Regions from separate parts of the Homo sapiens genome. Here region 1 is linked to region 2. Evidence: promoter capture Hi-C in human tissues and cell types (Jung and others, 2019). All regions are on one chromosome and are shown on one strand. The core of a region is centred on a gene start or on the middle of the fragment in contact, and the rest is flanking DNA. Distances in the headings are between cores, read along the strand shown. Region 1 holds the start of LINC03139 (long intergenic non-protein coding RNA 3139). Region 2 holds the start of CDH23 (cadherin related 23).

Evidence for each region. Contacts are between HindIII fragments. The study calls those that stand out against the background at their distance.
Region 1: a contact is called between a fragment that was not itself captured here and the fragment with the promoter of CDH23 in region 2, in 1 of the 25 tissues and cell types used here (spleen).

The regions. Positions count from the first base shown.
Region 1 is chr10:71,875,539-71,878,565 of GRCh38, forward strand. LINC03139 (long intergenic non-protein coding RNA 3139) reads left to right here and starts at 2,549. Exons shown (of 2, transcript XR_007062186.1): 1 at 2,549-2,947. RefSeq lists an enhancer at 459-1,339. The HindIII fragment of the contact is 7,970 bases long and covers 1-3,027 here.
Region 2 is chr10:71,395,584-71,398,666 of GRCh38, forward strand. It overlaps CDH23 (cadherin related 23), which reads left to right and starts at 1,337. Exons shown (of 70, transcript NM_022124.6): 1 at 1,337-1,735. RefSeq lists a silencer at 856-945 and an enhancer at 1,629-2,140. The HindIII fragment of the contact is 12,378 bases long and covers 1-3,083 here.

The sequences.
Region 1 (3,027 bases), core at 522-3,021, 480 kb after region 2:
TCTACCTCTTTCTACACAGACACGGCAACCATCCGATTTCTCAATCTTTTCCCCACCTTTCCCCCCTTTCTATTCCACAAAACCGCCATTGTCATCATGGCCCGTTCTCAATGAGCTGTTGGGTACACCTCCCAGACCGGGTGGTGGCCGGGCAGAGGGGCTCCTCACTTCCCAGTAGGGGCGGCCGGGCAGAGGCGCCCCTCACCTCCCGGACGGGGCGGCTGGCCAGGCGGGGGGCTGACCCCCCCACCTCCCTCCCAGACGGGGCGGCTGGCCGGGCGGGGGGCTGACCCCCCCACCTCCCTCCCAGACGGGGCGGCTGGCCGGGCGGGGGGCTGACCCCCCCACCTCCCTCCCGGACGAGGTGGCTGCCGGGCGGAGACGCTCCTCACTTCCCAGACGGGGTGGCTGCTGGGCGGAGGGGCTCCTCACTTCTCAGACGGGGCGGTTGCCAGGCAGAGGGTCTCCTCACTTCTCAGACGGGGCGGCCGGGCAGAGACGCTCCTCACATCCCAGACGGGGCGTCAGGGCAGAGGTGCTCCCCACATCTCAGACAATGGGCGGCCGGGCAGAGACGCTCCTCACTTCCCAGATGTGATGGCGGCCGGGAAGAGGCGCTCCTCACTTCCTAGATGGGATGGCGGCCAGGCAGAGACGCTCCTCACTTTCCAGACTGGGCAGCCAGGCAGAGGGGCTCCTCACATCCCCGACGATGGGCGGCCAGGCAGAGACGCTCCTCACTTCCCAGACGGGGTGGCGGCCGGGCAGAGGCTGCAATCTCGGCACTTTGGGAGGCCAAGGCAGGCGGCTGGGAGGTGGAGGTTGTAGCAAGCCGAGATCACGCCACTGCACTCCAGCCTGGGCACCGTTGAGCACTGAGTGAACGAGACTCCATCTGCAATCCCGGCACCTCGGGAGGCCGAGGCTGGCGGATCACTCGCGGTTAGGAGCTGGAGACCAGCCCGGCCAACACAGCGAAACCCTGTCTTCACCAAAAAAATACGAAAACCAGTCAGGCGTGGCGGCGCGCGCCTGCAATCGCAGGCACTCGGCAGGCTGAGGCAGGAGAATCAGGCAGGGAGGTTGCAGTGAGCCGAGATGGCAGCAGTACCATCCAGCTTCGGCTCGGCATCAGAGGGAGACTGTGGAAAGAAAGGGAGAGGGAGACCGTGGGGAGAGGGAGAGGGAGAGGGAGCGGGAGCGGGAGCGGAAAAAATATTTAAAGATGATATACAGTCTACAGCAAACCACCAAATGCATCATTTGCAAGTTTAGGCTAATGATAAAAATTTCAAAGGGGCCAGGCACATTTGCTCATGCCTGTAATCCCAGCACTTTGGGAGGCCAAGGAGGGCGGATCACCTGAGGTCAGGAGTTCGAGACCAGCCTGGCCAACATGGTGAAACCCCCGTCTCTACTGCAACTATAACGATTAGCCGGGTATGGTGGCAGGTGCCTGTAATCCCACTTACTCAGGAGGCTAAGGCAGGAGAATCGCTTGAACCTGGGAAGTGGAGGTTGCAGTGAGCCGAGGTCGTGCCATTGCACTCCAGCCTGGGTGACAGAGTGAGAGTCCATCTCAAAAAAAAAAAAAAAAAATTTGAAAGGGGTTTTTTAAAGGGTGCCTGTGGACAAAGTGTGATCACTGTTGTGTGGAAGTGATCCTTTACGATCCCAATCAGATCACACCATTTGCTGTTCACACATCTCCAGTGGCCTCTTTTGCCTTTGAGCATGCCCAGGTCGTTTCCCCCCAGTCTGGAGGCTCTTGCCCTTTGCTCCTGCTCCAGATATTCATTCTGCATCTGCTCCCTAGCAGCTTTCTCTCTGCCATCCTGCCATCTTTTCTTCTTGCCATGCTAGCATATGTTTATTTATGAGTGGCAGCTGTATCTCTAGTCACTAGGTCAGGACCTGGTATATTCTAGGCGCCCTGGAAGCATTCTCCAGAAACAGAGGTGCGGTGAGGAGAGTTTGGATCCAGTTTGGACTGCAGATAAATGTTTGTGAGGCTGGGCATGGTGGCTCACACCTGCAATCCCAGCGCTTTCAGAGGCCAAGGCGGGAGGACCGCCAGAGCCCAGGAGTGAGAGACCAGCCTGTGCAACATAGTGAGACCCCTGTCTAATTATTTTAAAAAAGGTTGTTTGTGAAATGACTGAGCAAGTAAATAATGAAGGAGTGAAGGAACTTGGACTGATGACCTGGAACACCTGTACCCTTCTCCCACTCCAAAAAACCCCTGCCCATCCTCACAATCCAGGGCCAGCATCACTCTTTTTTTCTGGAAGCTTCCTCAGTATCCTGGGTATGGGTCCCCTGTGATTCATGGAGGACCCCCAGTGGGGCTCCCAATGGCACGGCATTACCAGCACCTGCACCTGCTGCCTCCCCAGTCACCCCTGGCTCCCAGGGTTCCATTGCACAGTAGATCCTCTAGAAATGCTTCACAGACATTGATGTGGTGAGGGAGGAGGGACAGGGTAGCAGTCTCACCACCCATTACCCCCACCCCCGCCTCTCATTCAACGAACACTTTGAGCACCTGGCACTTTGATCCCCTCAGTGCCAGGCACTGAGCTCCAAATCCCAGACTCTGTAACGTGCAAGCAATCCTTACTCTTTCTATTTTAATATCTTAACCCATGTATTTATATACCTTGTCAAGTAAAATGTATTCTTTTTTAATGATTCTCAAAAGGATACTCATTGAAAAAATTTAGAAAACACCGAAAAATGCAAGGAAGAAAAATACAATTCTCTTACAATCCTGTATAATCCTGTGCCTCTAGGCCTACAGTCAGCTCCAAGCAACGGCACAGACACCTCCTCCTCCGGATGACCAGGATTGCCTCTGGGTTTGTCACAAGCTGGAACAGGGTCCTTTGGAGGATGGGGCTCTGTGAAGAAAAAGAGGTGAAGTGTTTGGATTCAGTCTGAGCCAAAGGTGAGCGTTATCAGTCCCCGAAAGGCCTCAGGGGTTGGCTGACTCTCTGAGAGGCCGGCAAGACTGGTGAAGTTCTGGAA
Region 2 (3,083 bases), core at 87-2,586:
GGTTCCCCTACTAGAGAAGCTTCATGGGGCACAAAGACCAAGCCTGTTTTGTTCTCCATCCTATTCCTAGAAACTATTTCAGTTAGCTAGCACATAGCAGTGACTGTGAATGAATGAATGAATAATGAATGAGCGAATGGTAAGGAACTGGAGCTTTGGAACCAGATAGATTCTGGGTTCAATACCCGACTCCACCACAGGGGCAAGTCCCCAACCTCCTAAAGCCTGTTTCTCACTGTAAAACTGGGATAATGGCAGGGCCCACCAGAAAGACTTTATTGAAGATAGAATGAGTTGAGGCCCAGAAAGTCTCAGCCCAGAGCCTGGCTCCAGGCAGGTACTGTCAATGTACTGACTGGAACAGTGACAGCTCGGAAATCCTGTCATGTGAGAAATAGTTTTAAAAAATCAGAATGCTTAGCCCCGGGGAAGTAAAGATCAAAGGTAGGGGATAAACCTCTTCCATTACCTGCATATGGACCCTTTCTTGATCCAGCTGTCTCAGAAAGCCATAAAGTCTCTGTCCCTATAGGTGTGCAAAAAGGAGCCGGGAGACCATGACTCGGGCACTGCAGACGGAGCTCCCGCAGGGGTGAGGGCGCCTAAGTGACCTCACGGGTCTCCTCCAACCCGGGGTCCTCCATTTCTAAGCACTTGGAGGCCTCTTGAGCTCTAGTGAGGGAGGAGGCGCAGATGGGAGCGCACGAGTCGGGTGGGCAAAGGCAGCTGGTTGGAGAGAAGCGTAGGCCAAGAGGCCCCAAGGACTAGAGGGACTGCTCAGCGACTCTGGGAGCAGAGAGGGGGCGCTTAAAGCCAACAGATGGCGCGGGCTCACCTAGGCCGAGCGCCCGCTCGCCCGCCCGGGCTTCCCGGGAGCGTTACCTCGCTCTGCCTGAGGCGCGGGGCGGACGAGACGCTGGGGGCCCCATCCCCCTGCGCGCCCCTCTGCGGGACGGCTGGCGGCCTGGCGGGGCACTGCTCTGTCTCGCACCTGGGGCCTCTTCCGCGGGCTTCCTCCCTGCCCCTTTGGGGGATTCGTAGAGTTGCCACAGCAGCCGGTGCCATGACATCGGCAGAGGGCAGCTTCGCCAGCACTGAAATATTCATGCCCTGAGCGCCCGGCGGGGCTCGGCGCCGCTCCCGGGGGTCCGGGCGGGGCCGGGCGGGAGCTCGGGGGTCCTGGCGGCCTGAGGGGTGGGGGAGCGCCGAGCGCGGGCGGGCGGGCGGGGGCCGGGCGAGGCGGGAGGTGAGGGAGGGAGCTGCGGGAGGCGGGGTCTGGACGGCGGGGGCCGAGCGGGGCGGGGGCCGAGCGGGGCGGGGGAAGCAAGGGAAAGTTGATCGCGGACTTGAGCGGCGGCGGCGGCTCGGGAGAGAGGGACGCGGGCTGCAGGCGCGATGCTTGGCTAGAGGACGCGTCCGACGGCGGCCGGACGCTGAGGTGGTCGGGGCTAGTCAGCCCGGCCTGGGCATGGAGCGCGGGGTGGCAGAGCCTCTGGACGTTTGGGGCGCGCCCAGTCCGAGCCCCCGGCGCGCCTGAAGTTGCGAGCGGCGAGCGGCGAGCGGCGAGCGGCCCGCGGAGACCCAGGAGCTGCCGGCACGCCGCGGATGAGCCTTCGCGCCGGCGGGAAGACGCGGCGGTGGCCAGGGCCAGAGCAGGCGGCCCGCGGGGGCCGATCCGGCGGAGAGCAGAGCCCGAGGCGAGGCGAGGCGCGGCGCCGCTGCACACACGCACACGGTACCCGGAGCCACGCACCGCCTCTTCCCTCCTCGCTTCCCTCTCCTTCCCCTCGCCGTTCGCCCGCCGCGCGGCGGGGAAGTTGGTGGTGACCGCGGCTGCCGAACCACTTGTTCCCAGCGCGGCCATCGCCCGTGGCGGGCGCTCGCGGCATCCTTCGGTCCCAGGCCCCTGGCCCTAGCCTCGCGCCCCGCTCCGAGCTCCCCGACGCGCGGCAACTTTGATTCCTGGGAACTCGAATTCCATTCGCGTTGGCCTTGGGAGGACAGGCATCCCATCCCCCATCCCCGGTCCTGGGACCGCGAACATTTGGGGGCTTTGCTCTCGGCGCTACGGAGAGGGTCCAGGTCTGGGGTGGAGAGATTTTCGAGAGTGGAGCGCGTTGGGATCCAATCCCCTCCCCTTCTGAGCCCTGGGTCCCCATTTGGACAGTGGGGATGGGGTGGGGCGCACCCCTACTGCGGGCTGGGCAGAGGCGCTGAGGGGAACTAAAGGCACGTAGTTCTCCCCTCCCCTCATCAAGTCCCTGTGCCCGCGGGAGACCCCAGGGGACTTACACATCCTCCCAAATTCGGTCCAGCTATGGGAAGACGCGCCCCTCGAGGAGCCGGGAGCCTTTTGCGGCTCTCGCTTCGCCTTCCTGGCCCTGGAACTGGTCCGCTACGAGCGGTGCTGGCTGCCCCCAGGAGCTGGCACCCGGGAGCACTGCCCCTCATCTCCACCGTAGGTCAGCCCAGGACTCGAGCAGAGCCCGCGTGTTCCAAGGCAGTGACGGCGCCAGCCGGCGGGGACTCTGCCTGGCTTTCTCGGAGCGGGCACCTAGAGAGGCTGCCTCCGTGCTGTGAGCGGAGATCCGATGCCAGCCGCCGCCCCACTGCGACCCCAGCCCCAGCCCTAGTGCTGTCAGCGGTCCACTGGGAGGAAATTAGCCTTTCCTCGGTAGTAATACTCCCCCATCCTCCCTAGTAATTCAGAAAGCAGAGCCTTCTTTTTCTACGTCCTTTGCCCTCTCAGACCAGAGCTGGCATTGACATTGACCTCGCCTTCCAGCCCCTTGGGAAGTGCCCCAACCCTAATTTGGATTTTGAAATAAGCTAGAGAGACACAGGAGTGTGTGTGTGTGTGTGTGTGTGTGTGTGTGTGTGTGTGTGTGTGTGTTGGGTGGAGTCAGACCCTCACACAGGGAAGAATTAGGTTGTGGGGTGTGGGGTGGGGCGGGCTTTAAGAACCTAGTTGGGGCCAGTTGCATGGTGATGATGAGTCAGCCCACGATGGGGAGAGCTGGCTTGGAGTTAGTGCTTGGTTCGTGGTGCAGGGGTAGGCGCACTGCGGTCAGCACCTACAGGGG